Regions from separate parts of the Homo sapiens genome. Here region 2 is linked to region 1. The links are contacts of gene promoters, found by promoter capture Hi-C in blood cells and fetal thymus (Javierre and others, 2016). All regions are on one chromosome and are shown on one strand. Each heading gives the region's core, a stretch centred on a gene start or on the middle of the fragment in contact. The rest is flanking DNA. Distances are from core to core; before and after follow the strand shown.

Region 1 (6,784 bases), core at 2,303-4,802:
TGAGGCAGAAACCGCCTCATTAATTTCTGCTTCATTGAAAACTGAGGAACAAATCAATGTTTACCAATGGGAATGAAGCTAAATGGGTAACAAAAAGAAATTCAAAACACTTGTGATAAGTCATTAGTTTAAAATGTAGGAAAACCATTTTAAAGGGTTGTCTAGGTTCTGTTTAGTCAACAAAACTTAAATAAAAATGAGAAATTGTTTTAGTAAATTTGAAATGGGTTGTTCAGTGCACACTTTTAATTTTAATCCTGTTAAACCAGAAAAAGGTTGCTTTCTACATGATTAATATAACATTATTAGTACAACACATTGCAGAAGAAATAGCAGTACCACTGGTTTGACAAAATATGACTTCTTTATTACATTAGGTATTTATGAACTTTAGATATAACAGCACTTTAAATATATTGAAGATTCAAATAAAAATGTCCTCTGTTTTATCCATAAACCAGTTAATTTAAAGATTTTAAAATATCACACAATGACAGATAAACCTAAAAGGGACATTAGAGATACCTTAGTACCATCCTTTCATTTTACAAAGGAGGAAGATAAGAACTAGAAACAGTAAAACATTTGTCTAAAAATCTGACAGCTAGTTAGTAACGAATAAACAAATCTGGCTCTTCTAAGCACTTGCATGTTAAGCACAAAATGAAATCATTGAATGAAAACATAAATATTTTGAGAAGTCAATTCATTCTTTGCCCTTCTTTTATAAACAATCTAAGTCACCACCCGTAATAATCACCTCCAAGCAGTTAACGCCCTTCCTTGCATTGACTCTGTAGCTGAAAGGCTGTGGCTTTATTTTCAGCTAAGTGAGAAAAGAAGCACATGCAATAGAATAGGAATAGCTCATTGAAAAAAATACGCTATTTTAAAAGCCAATACTATTTCCAAGACAGGCACTTTGATCAAGTATAGAGAGCATTTTGTTAGAGCATCAAACCATTTGGAAGTCAGTTGAAAGGAATGGCTCGTGGAAAGCAGGATGCTTTAAAGGGAAACATAGCAACATTCACACTGTTTTGTTCCAAATTGTACCTTAAAAACAGCTGTGTGTGTGTGTGTGTACGTGGGTGTGCGAGTAGAAAGGGGAGAGGAAAAGGATCTTCACTTGAGTTTAAGCAGGGTATTTCACTAGGATTCAGTTGTATTTGGCCAAACTAGTGAGTGGAAAGCTGGTCTAGTAACCAAAGGCCGGCTGTATGATGGGAGGGTAAATCTGAGTGCAGGGCAGCTCCTTTCTCTCTGTCTCACTCCCAGGACAACCCCTCAAGGGATGGAGAGAGCTACTAGCAAGCTGAGCTGCAGCACCAAAACCTTGATGCTCTAACAGAGCTTAACAAAGAGGAGAGAAAGGCATTGTTTCTCTTTTAGCATGATGGGACACATAGTTCTGAGTAGAAGGGCATGTTAATAAAAACTCTTTGAGACAAAATGCAACTTCCCAAACTCTATGCAGAATGGCTAAGGACAAAATACTCTCGTTATTTTGCTTCTAATACTAAACAGATTTTTCTTTTGAAATTCAAACCATGCAACCTCTAAATTGATGCGGGATGTGGGTAGGGAAGGTGGTCGGTGAGAACACCAGAAATCTAAGATTTTCCCATTGGTTCTGCTACTAAATAGGTGAACACATTTGGGAAAATCTTTTTACGGGGAACTCAATTTTTTTACCTATAAATCATGGGAGTTTTGGTCTTTTCCTATTCAAAATTCAATGGTTCTATTCTGAAGGAAAATATTTTCCTTTAAATTATAAAGGCAAAAACTTTCTGAGATTACAAAAAACACTTCCAGGGGCTCACCTAAGGTCCCTGAATAGCCCATAATCCCCTTGAAATTATGTGAAAAATTTCCGGTGAATGTGTGTATGTATGCAAGCACTTTTCTAAGAGGAGGGACAGTATTTTCATTAGAGCCTCAAAAGGAAATTTGGTCCAAAAATGTTGAAGACCACTAGTTGAAACAGTAAATGGAGTCTTCGGTTTCTGATTTATTTGGCTGCAGAGCAGATTAGCAGCAATCTTTATATGGTTATAAAATCTATCCCACAAAGCTTTCTTGAGTTTCTCATTTATTTTCATGAGCTGTGTGTTTGTAATTTTTTATGAGCAGAAAGGTTGTTCAAAATCAAGAGTCCATTTTCATGAAAGATTTTAAATTCTGGGGATTTTAAAGATGTATTTTGATTAGTGGCTAAAGAGAGCCATTTTACATCACAAAATTCCAAACATATAGCATCTTAAACACTTGCCCATTCATGTTGAATCATTTTAATATTTCTTTCTTCCTGAGTTAACTGACTTGAAACAAAAGGCTTGGCTCCTCCTTCCAACCTGCTTTTCTTCTGATGCTTAAGTCTGCTTTGAAATAATGATGGTGAATTAACTGTGGTTCCATTGGAAGTACTGTAGTAATCTCCCACTTTATCAGGATTCGATCTCTAAGATACATTAAATACAAGATATTTCTATAATATTCTTAAAGAATTATTTGAAAATGGGAGAGAAGACACTAGGGAACCTGAGGAACTAAGAGGAAAGACGCCTGTAGAAAGAAAGGAGAACCAAAGAGAAGATCTACATGATCAGATACCAAAATAGTATCAAATCCCTAAGCAGAGAAACAAGAAAAAAGAAGGAATTTCTTAAACAGGGAACACATATAGCAACTAGAGAAGAATGACTTTTTGAATACATTAAACGACAACGACGAAAAACATATAACCCAGCTTTTCAAGAACATCTTTTGGCTGACAATCTCAAGGCGTTGTATGGCTCCTCATGGCAGAGACAGAGGTGAGGAGACAACATCACAGAAAGGAGGACGTTGCCAGTGATTATCAGATAAATACAAGAAGCTCAGGGGAACAATCTTTTGTGGCAAATAAGTGCCAGTCAGTGACACATGCTGATTTTTTTTTCCTTGAGACAATATCAAAGAGGTATAATGTAAAGGGAAGAAAATCAGGTGTAAGCATTGGTCTTTTAACAAATTATCTTAGGTAATCTCAGATGCTTTTTAAGCGACTCCTTTTCCTAATGTGTGTCAATTTCATCAGAACTACTAGCAGCTCCTAAGTCCAAACGGAGAGGAATGCAGCTTTCAGTGCCTCTGTTCCTACCAGAGCCCTGCAGCTTCAGGTCACCGGCTCCAGCCACAGTGAGCCTGGAGGGCGCCAGGAGAAGAAATATGTTCTCACACGCACCAGGTCCCCAGATGACCCTGCCTGGGCGCTGCGTTCACTCAGCATCCTCCTGTGACTCTTCCTCTTTCGAGTAACAGCGTTTTTCTCCTCTCTGCGCCTCCTCAAATTCCATTCAAGAAAAAACCTGGGCTTTCAGCTAAAACGCACACCGGCCCCGCTCCATCCCGCTCCGGGCGGCCGCCTCCAGGGGGGCGCTGGTGGCTCCTCGCAGCCGCGGGAATGAGGGCGCACCCTCTTACCCCCGCGCGCGCCCGTTGCCATGGGAACGCACTCGACCGGGAAGCCCGAGGGAGAGGCGGGAGGCAGCGGCGCGGCCGAGCTCGTGGGAGACGCTATCGCAAGATGGCGTCTGCGAGGCCGCGGGATGCGGAGTGAGCGCGCCCCGCCGGGGGCTGTGCGAGGCTGCTGCTGCTCTCCCCGTCGCCGCCGCCGCCGCCGCCAGTGCGGCGCCGCCTCTCCGCCAGCCACTGCGCCGCGGCCAAGCCTCCTGCCTCGCAGGTACCTCCTCCCGCGCGCACGCTCCGCGCCTGATGGCAGCGACAAGTGCCGGCTCGCGGAGAGCTAGCGGGGCTCCCTGGGCCCGGTGCGCCCGACAATAACGCGTGAATAACTTTTTCTTGCAGCGGTCCCCCGCGTCCCGGCCTGCAGCCTCCCCGGGCGCCGGCGCCCCCAGCACGCCCCATCGGGCACCCCACTCTCTCCGAGGTGTGGGTGCGGCGGGCTGATGAGGTGATCCCTAGCCCGCCTGGGAGGAGCGCCTGGACTCGCGGGCGGCGGCGAGCGCCTTTACAATGGCCCTGACCCTGTTTGGTAAGTGCAGCCGTCTCCCCGCGCCGCCGCAGGTGGGCCGCGTCCCGGGGCTCGGGGGCGGGGGCCTGGGGGGCCTGGGCGCCCGGGGAGGGGGCGCGGCGCGTGGGGTCGGGGCGGGCCGGGGCCGCAGAGTTGGGGCGCCCGGGGCGCCGGCTTGCTCCCTCGCGCCTCTCCCATTGTTTCCTCTCCCGGCAGGGCCGATGGGCGTGTGCTCCCCTGGCCAATTCTCGGCTGGGAGGCTCAGAGGTCCTGGGTGTTTTGCAAACGCACAAAGATTCTCTAAGATGCCAACTTGGGAGTGAAGTTAACTGGTTGTTTTCAAACCTGCCTTTCCCGTCGGTAAATAAATCCTTGGAAAGTTTATTTATTTTGAACGAGGTATCTGTGAGTCCCCAGCCTCCTTGGAATTGCCAAATGCATGTGTTGCTTCCTGTTGGACTATTGGGGAATTTTTTTTTTGGACTCAGTATATTCCGTTGGAAATAAGTATGATTTGTGAACTGAATATGGGTTAAAATTGAAAATGTTTGCACTAACGAATGAGAGCAGACAGAATAAAGTTGGTTACCAGAAGATAACTGTAATCTCAGGAGACTGAGTATTCATTAAGAATGAAATGTTATTTTTGTGGTGTAATTACTGCAGCACTGTTGCTTTTGGTGGTTAAGACTTCAAGCTGTTTTTTTCTCAGTCTGCAATGACAATGGGTTGGGAAAAAGGACTGAAAAGATACATTCTTTCCTTTTACAAAACGACTATGGTACATACGTACCTGACTTTAAGAAAACTCAATATGTGAACATTAGACGTTCAAAGTATTCAGCTTTTTTGAAGAAGCAAAGTACAATGATATGTAATTGATAGCTACGAGAACAGCCTAAGTAAGTTATTCACAATATCAAGTTTCCAGTTCAGTTTTAATTATGTCATTTGATCAAACACGTTAGAGGTGTTACATACCTCAAATGCTTTTTGAGGTAAATACTTCCCAGTGAATTAAGCTGCTAGAATCAAAGTGTTACTTTTATTTAACTATCTTATTTTATAAATTAAACTTAGACCCAGAGAGGTTGTTTCCCAAAGTCACATGGCTCTTTTGTGGCAAAACTGAGCCTAGAATTCACTTCACCAGGCTTCAGTCTGGGACTGTGTTTACTGTGCCCAAGTGCATTACTAGAAGTGCCATTTCTTACTTGGTGATGATCCTCCATAGGTACTTTAAAAAAGTGTCTTCTTTTTCTGAAAAATAATAAAATTCTCGCTGTTTCTCAGTACCTTGTATCTAAGCATTATTTAATAGCAGCATTTTCCTTAAATGTGGACCTTTTTGGTACAAACATTTTCTTTCCTAAAGAGATATTTGGCATTTTCAAGGTGTGGTTTCAGAAGTAAGGTTTACAAGTCAACTTTTCAAATACTCGCATTCCTGACGAATAAAAAAGATAAATTGGGGTGAAAAATGCTCTTTTAAAAGGATTTCTAAATTCTAAATCTTTAACCACTGTGGTGAAGATGAGGAAGGGAAAAGCATGGAATGTGGCCTATAGAAGAAAGTATAAGAAATCACTCCCAGCCTTCAAAATGAATAATGTATCTTTAAAATTTTAAAGTCTACTTATGGGAAAATAGAATTCACTTCCCAAAATCCAGTTTGTTACAGTGTGAACGTTTCTGTGTTATAAAACAAAGCACTCTTGAGTGCAGAGGCTATTTGTTAAGTAGTGATAGAGCAGCAGCTGTTTTTAAAAGTGGTTGTACACCACTCATCAGTCATCTGGGATGTCTATTAAAAATGTAGATTCTTTTGCCCAAAGACATGGGGGAAGGGGATTTTAAAGTGACTCCCTTTGTGATTCTTATGCTCACTCAAGTTTGAGAACTGTTGTATTCAAGATAAATGCTAGGAGATTGGGTCAAACTCGCCCAATACAAAATAGCTTTTTGTGTATGTTGAGAGATGTACCTAAGGGTTAGAAGAAATGGATTTTATTTTAGATTTTACTACCTTTAACTAGTTGGTCTTAGTCAGAAGTGCCTCATGTCCCTTCATATTTACTCTTAATGACCAACTTAGAACAGAAGAGCAATGGAGCAATAAAGTTCTGTGAGATGGTAGTGAAAAGAGTTAGAGGCAGGGACCTAACCAGATCAACAGGATTTGTCAGAGCTCAGCAGAGTTTATACCTGAGGCTCCCCAGAGTAACGACTGCCAGGGCCCTATCTTTTGTATCTTGGTTGATTAGTTAGTGCAGTCCAGCAGTAGAGTCTAGACTAGTTATTTGCTTTGTGTTTTACATTTTCTTTCCATTCAGGCTTTTTATAAATTTAAGAAATGTTCTTTTTATAGGGAGTTGGTGACTTAGTTTTAAAAAGTGGAGCCTCTAACATTACCTGATTTTGTATTTGCATACATTTAATTTTTTTCACCTGTTAAGTATATTATAGGAACTCGAATACTTGTTAAATTAAGCTGAATAGTTAAGACTGTTTTATCTCTCATCCTCACTGTTAATCACCTTTGCTGCTTAACATATTTTTAATGCATATTAGTTTTATTTTGGGATAGAAGAACCAGACCCCAATCTTGAAAGATTTTACAGTCTCATTTGGGAATTGAAAATGTGCATTTTTGAAAGCTTAAGAATTTGCACCCGTTTTTCTTCTCCTTTCAAATGAACTCACATCTCATTATCAGCTTCGATATAGTTTTTAAATCCCCCAATTTCAAAAATTATCCAAATGTAT
Region 2 (7,086 bases), core at 1,408-3,907, 200 kb after region 1:
AGGGAAACTAGGCCAGCCCATGTATGTGATAAGAGCAAAGAAAGGGAGGTGAATTAATGGTGTATTCACTCCAAATAAGCATCAGGAAGAGCAGTCCTGAATCCCTGCCAGATTGAATGGGAAGAAGCATCTCTTTACTCTGGAAGCTCTGCAACTGAGCATGTCCATTCCCAGCCTCTGGCTATGAGTCTCAAAAATAAATTCACACTGACAAAGAAACTGAATGTTCCTATGGACCCCAGAGAGCAAAGAAATGACACAGTTTCCTGTATAGAAAATATGAGACAACCATTTTGTGACCTGAAAACACCAGTAACAGATTTTAAAATTCATGAAGAGCTCACCTTGGCTCCCTGTAGCCACACTGCTGGGGGCCAGTCTTTGGCCTCCCAAGGATGTGTACCAGCACTCATCTGCAAGATCTATAGTAATGATGCAAAGGATTTTAACATGGATTACAGGAAACCAGTGACTCGGATCATTAAAATCAGTTCTATATATAAATGCTGCCCAATTCCATGCATGTTCAAAGGAATAATCCTATACCTTTGAATAAACAGAGCAAAATAATTTGGAGTAATTAAGGATGATCACTTCTGAGAGGCATAAACCTCAAGTAATGAGATCCAAGAAAGAAGACAATATCCATAGGATGCTGGAATGAACTCATTTAAGAGCCAAGGTGAAAAGGCAAGTTTGGGGAAATCTTCCCCAGCTTAGGAAATAGTGACTGAATGGAAAGCTGACTATTCTGAGGTCAGCAGTTGCCATTATACCTCTGCTACATTTTGTCCTTTGGTGGAATCACAGATATTTATGTGACAGGTACAGTGAGAGATCCATGGTCAAAACAAATAAAATCTCATCAGCTTTACCCCAGAAGAATCCTAGTCTGCTGGAGGCAAGAGCAGAAAGTAAAGAAACAATCAGGAAACAGAGATGTTATAGACGTCTTGCTGATATGGTATAGCCCTACTTAGAATGTAGTATGTGGATATCAGATTCCAGGATTTGTTTACATTATTTTAAAACAGAAAATAAGTAAATAGATAATACAGATGGAAGAATATATTTGTGTATTTGTGTATACTTACTAAAAAGCAGGTTTTAAAAGAACCAGTTTAATAACAACGTACATAGTAAGCCCCGGCATGTTACTCTTTTAGGCCCCTAGCTTGTTTAAATCTATTTTCCATTGATTGGTTAACTCAAAAATATTAAGCAGCTACTATATGCCAGGCACCATGTTCTTTAGAACATTTATAGAGCATAGACGAGGTGCCATGAATCCTGCCGAGCACTTTAGATATGATGGTTAACCATGTACGCTTGGTCCTTGCACTCATGGAGGGCTCACATTAAATAATAATCACACAGTGGCTATTGATTTTATTTTAATAAGGGCTATAAAGGAAAATATTAATAACTGGGGAGTTTAACCTGTCTAGTAGGGCAGGTAAGGCATGCTGGAGATCAGAAGAGGCTCTTTCACAGAAAATTAATCATTAATATGTAACGTAGCACACTAAATTTTACGTTAAAAACTGAAGAATTGCTAATCTTTAAAATCTGATTTGTATACAGATATGTCATTCATTAAAACAGTGCTGTGAATCCAGATATTTACTTTTATTTCTTTCAACATCCTTAAAAGATGGTGAGAAGGCAGATATTTCTGTGAACATGTATGAAGATATCAACATTATCACTGGTGCACTTAAACTGTACTTCAGGGATTTGCCAATTCCACTCATTACATATGATGCCTACCCTAAGTTTATAGAATCTGCCAGTAAGTATGAATGCATGTATTTCAAATAACCTGACAACGTCCTCTTGGTAATCACCTTCCTGGTTTTCTGGCTAACTTGAATGCATTTTATGAAATGTTTCCCCTTTGCCTCTCTCTATGGTTAATGTACTTACAAGAATTTTGCATTGTTCTCTAACGTAGATTATTTTATGACTTAATACCATCAGAAGCTTCTTTGTAATGTGCTAAACCTCATTTTCCAAAATAAGGCTTATACCAGTGCTCTTTAGATGTAAGCCAATGCTTTTGTAAAATAAAATAAAAATGAATAACTGGAAAAGTAAATTAAAAAAACAAAACCAGGCTGGCAGTGGCTCACGCCTGTAATCCCAGCACTTTGGGAGGCTGAGGTGGGCAGATCACCTGAAGTCAGGAGTGCAAGACCAGCCTGGCCAACATGGTGAAACCCCATCTCTACTAAAAATACAAAAAATTAGCTGGGCGTGGTGGCACGCGCCTGTAGTCCCAGCTACTCAGGAGGCTGAGGCAGGAGAATTGCTTGAACCCGGGAGGCAGAGGTTGCAGTGAGCTGAGATTGTGCCATTGCATTCCAGCCTGGGCAACAAGAGCAAAACTACGTCTCAAGAAATAAAACAAAAACAAACAAAAAACCAACTATCTTTTATTAAATTCAGCAAACATAAAATTTCTATCAGATTACTATATGTTTCTAAATTCTTATTCTCAGTTTCTGTGCTTGTATAAGTTCACTCAGACTATTAACAGCAAACTGGCACTGGCCCACACATTGTACTTTAAAAAGCACTATTTTATATCAAGAAGTTTTTGTAAATTCTAGTTGAAATGAAAATGAGAAAAAGCAAAGGTTTATTTGTCAAAGTTCATTTATGCTGTAAAAATCATACTTGTAATTCACACTTCATTTTTTAAAGAAGGGAATTCTTATTGGTTTTAAGTATTAGCATTACTGGTTTTTTTGGAAAAGATAGGCTATTTCTGTCATTTTGCTTTTCTCTCTTTAAAACCATATGTTGTCTTCATCTTTAGATGATAACATCACTTCCTTAGTAACACTAATTTGCTTTTTGACTTGGGAATTTCATGAAGTACAATCTTTCTTTGTTCTAAATTTTAGTTTCCCTCTCAGGGCTTTTGTAGAGGATTTTTGTGGTTAGTTCCATGGAGGTCTGATTTCTTGTGGGTCAGCTCAAGCTCCCATGTAGAGAACAGCTGTGAGAATTACACTGATTTCTTTCAAAGCATTAGGTTAGAAAGCATGAAAAATTCTAGGTCTCTTATGGACGCAGTGCTGATCATGAAAATTTGTATGAGGGATCTCACATGTCCTTGTCTCATGGGGCAGACATTTCCTCTCCAGTTAAGTCTGATTGCCACTCATCTAGAAAGCAACACACACACACACACACACACACACACACACACACACACACACACACACACACACACACACACACAGATAGCCCGTGAAAAGCTGCCTAGTCCACAGTATGCTCTGATCCCGAGGACTCCGATCCCACTGAAAGTGGGTAAGCTTCCACTCTGGAAGTAAAACTGAAGCTTGGCTCTATGCCTAACTCTGGGGCACACAATCAGCAGAGGACAAAGCAGTGATGCAAACCCAGGTTCTGAACTCCACACACCGCCATATCTAGGAAGAAGTAAAAGCCAAGCCTCCTCTTGGACTTCGAGGCCTTTGTCCCCACAATTCCAAATGACCTCTCCTTCCTTCCCCACACCCACCTTAGCTGCTGAAGAAAATCTCTCCTTTTTATTATCCTTCCAAATCATTTGTCATCGTTATGGAGTTTCTGAAACAGCCTTCCTGTCCAAAATTAGCAAGCCCCCTTATCTCACCCCTCAGAGAACTCTGGAAACCACATCATAAGAAAGAAACTTTCGGAAATCAAGGTAGAAATTTCTCCTTATAATTTCAGTTATTTGGATGTCTGATTTATGAATGACACCAAAAACCCTGGCATAATACCAATATATAATATAAACGTTTGTTGTACATGTTTAATAGCGATATCTTGTTTGTGGAATATTGTGTCCTTGTACACTCTCTTCTGGCAGTAGAGTCTGTTTCATTCTTTAGATGTGCAGATACGGCCATTCTCTTAAAAGGCAGACAAGGAAGATGAGAGAAATTAACATTTATAGAGCATAGACGAGGTGCCATGAATCCTGCCGAGCACTTTACATCCATGATGTAATTTTAGAAAGGAGATGTGATGGAGTATCAGTAAATTGTGTAAGATCACATTGCTCACTAGGGGCGGCGGCAATGGCATTCACACACACCTCTAAGGTCAGAGCCCTTGCTTTACCCACTCTGTCACACTGCCTGGCTCACTTGATAGAACAGGGAATGAGACTTACACAAGGGAAGAAGGAAGAACCCCTTTCAAACGAGGGACAGGGTTAAATGATCCTTCCTAATGCGGATATATTCTCCAAAATTTTTTTTCTCTCTCAGCTCCTAAAAATGTCTCTGGCATTTATTAGCATCCTTTGCCAACAAAATATCAGAATTTACATTAAACCTTTCTTCTACAAAAGCTGTTTGAGCTCTGCTTTTGCAGCTTTCTTGGAGGAACCTGTAGCTTAAAAGCTGGAAGGGGGTGACTGCAAGAAATGAAAAAGGAAAGCAAGGGTGGAGAAGGCCAGGTCATCCCATGCTACAGCTGGAAGTTCTTCCAAAGCCCCTGGAAACTCCCTGATGAACCCACCTGAAGTCTGTGTTCACTCACCCCCACCTTCCTTACTCCCTCCCCCTGCAGTTAAGACATTGCTGCCCTAGAATAAAAGGACAGGTGCTTGTCACAGAGCCTCCAGTAACCCAACATTATGGATGCTTCCTGGTCACGATGGAAACAGCACTGCCAAAGTTGAGCTCCCTGTGGTAATGAGGGGAGAAATCTTCCTCTGGCCAAGGATTCTGAGAACTCTGTTCCCAGAGCAGCTTCAAAAAGCTACATGTCTCAGTGTGTAACCTTGAGATCAACTCAAAGCCCAGGGTTCTTGGTCCCAAGCAACTTGAAATCTCTGGAAGAGAAGCCTGGGAAGGAGAACTTGTTAGTATTTCCTCAGCTCTGCCACTGAGCTGCCCCTTTTGCTAAGTTTTAATCTTCTTGTATTCAAGTTTCTCTGTGTAAAATTAACTAGACATACTGTAGAAGAGCTTTTAATTAGATCTTTATGGGCTTAGAGTCTTTATTTCCTTCTCGGACAATGTTCACATTTTCCAGATCCTTCCAGGCCCTCCTCTAATGCCATCTGCTCTTCCCTGGACCTCTCAGCTGCAGACCATCTTTCTCCTCTGATTCCCATCACCTCTACTTGGACATCTTTACTGCCTCCTTCCTTCATGCTGGAAGGTTGTAATTACGTTTTGTCTTCCTACTTCACCGGAATCCCTTTTAAAGGGAGGAGTTCTTGCTCATGTTCCTTTTCCCACAGTACCTGTGATAGTCCCTTACTTACGTAATAGGTATAATAAATATTTGTTGAATAAGTCAACTTATAATTTTATATTGAGAACGGTAGGATGTTAGAGTTTGCACATATTCTAAGGGGTCATGCAGCTAGACTGTCTTCTATAAAACATTCTTTTTGAAATATTTAGTTGCTGCAAGGCTCACTCACTGCTTCCAGAGGCAGCCAGTCCACTGGTGGACAGATGTAACAGTTATGAAGCCCTTCTGTGTACAATAGAAATCTGCCTGTTTTTATTTCATAACTCTCTCCCATTGGCAGTGTTCTTGACATCACCCTTATTCCATGTGTATTTTGTATATTTGACAACTGATGATGGTCATTCATCTCTGAATACATTCCATTTTGTCTATTTCTCTCTTAAATTATGCTTCTTATAGCTAAAGAGTTGTGTTCTATAAAAAATGGTAATGGGTAATACTTTTGTAAGTGGAAGAAAAGGAGAAATGAGTTCTGGAGAAGAATGTCTGCCAATTTGATCTCAGTATATTCAGTGCATTTTGTCATTTGTTTCCAAATGTATATCTCCAGCCTGGAGATGTAAATGTCCTCTACCTGAACACCAGATTAATCCACAGTCAGCATGTTCATTTGAATGCCTGACAGGCATCTCAAATGGAACTTTTCTCCACCAAACCTCCTCCACCCACAGTCTTTCCAATCTCAGTTAATAGAGGCCTCGTCCTCGCTGCTGCTGAAGCCAAAAACCTGGATCATTCATGATTCTTCTGTTTCTCATGCATCCTTCATCAGGAATCCAATGAACTCAACCTTCAAAATATACCCAGAATCCAACAAATTCTTATTACCTTCATTGCTACCCCCTGGTCCAAGCTACTGTCATTCTTCACCTGGATGTTTTTAATAATTACTGGAATGGTCTCTCTGCTTTTATTCTTTGCCTTCCACAGTCTGTTTTCCACTAGGCAGCCAGAGTACAGATAACTGAAAAATACATGTCACATCATGACCTTTCCTTGTTGATAACCTTCCCATTTCTCTTAGTAAACACTAAATCCTTAAAATAGCCTACATCCCTTGACATGATTGAGTGCCCTGTTGCCCTTCTGACCACACCTGCTAATATCCCCCTCTTCACTCACTCTACTGCAGCCACAATTGGCTCCCCACTTTTCCTCAAACATTATAGGCGTACTCTCCCCTCAGGATCTCTGCATGGCTCCTCCTCCACCAGCACTGTCTTTCTCCAGATCTCCACATGGCTCATTCCCATTGAGGTCTATCCTGACCACCCCACTTAAAATTGCAACGCCCCCAACACTTCCAATGCTTATGCTGCTGTTTTTCCCATTGCACTTGCCTCATTCTAATAGAGTGTAACTATAATATATCATATTCATGGTTTATTGTCAGTCACCCTCAGTAGCAAGTAAGCTCCCCATGTGCAGGAGATGTTTTTTGCTCACCCGACAACACTATCTCACAGTTCTCCCTACAGAGATTAACTGTGGAAATTAAAAGGAAACTGGGTTCTTTTTTTAATTTCCAGATTTGTGTAGCTTCAAATTAATTTATCCTGTAGTAAAAACTAGAGCTGCGTGCAGTGGTTTACACCTGTAATCCCAGCACTTTGAGAAGCTGAGGCAGGAGGATCGCTTGAGCCCAGGAGTTTGAGACCAGCCTGGGCAACATAGTGAGACCTTGTCTCCATAAAAAATTAACATTTAGCTGGACATGGTGGTACACACCCACAGTCCCAGCTACTTGGAAGGCTGAGGCAGGAGGATCACCTGAGCCCAGGAAGTCGAGGCTGCAGTGAGCCATCATCATGCCCC

Evidence for each region. The method cuts DNA at HindIII sites, captures the fragments that hold promoters and counts their contacts. A CHiCAGO score of 5 or more calls a contact.
Region 2: a fragment that was not itself captured here is called in contact with the fragment with the promoter of CHN1 in region 1 in 1 of 17 cell types (naive CD8 T cells); the score reaches 5.1 in naive CD8 T cells.

What each region holds. Positions count from the first base shown.
Region 1 is chr2:175,002,149-175,008,932 of GRCh38, reverse strand. It overlaps CHN1 (chimerin 1), which reads left to right and starts at 3,552. Exons shown (of 13, transcript NM_001822.7): 1 at 3,552-4,039. The coding sequence starts at 4,021. RefSeq lists a silencer at 3,792-3,851 and an enhancer at 3,836-4,382. The HindIII fragment of the contact is 4,598 bases long and covers 2,080-6,677 here.
Region 2 is chr2:174,803,611-174,810,696 of GRCh38, reverse strand. It overlaps CHN1 (chimerin 1), which reads left to right. Exons shown (of 13, transcript NM_001822.7): 11 at 1,655-1,792. Among named protein-coding and RNA genes, the nearest start is that of CHRNA1, 43 kb to the right of the region's middle. The HindIII fragment of the contact is 1,343 bases long and covers 1,986-3,328 here.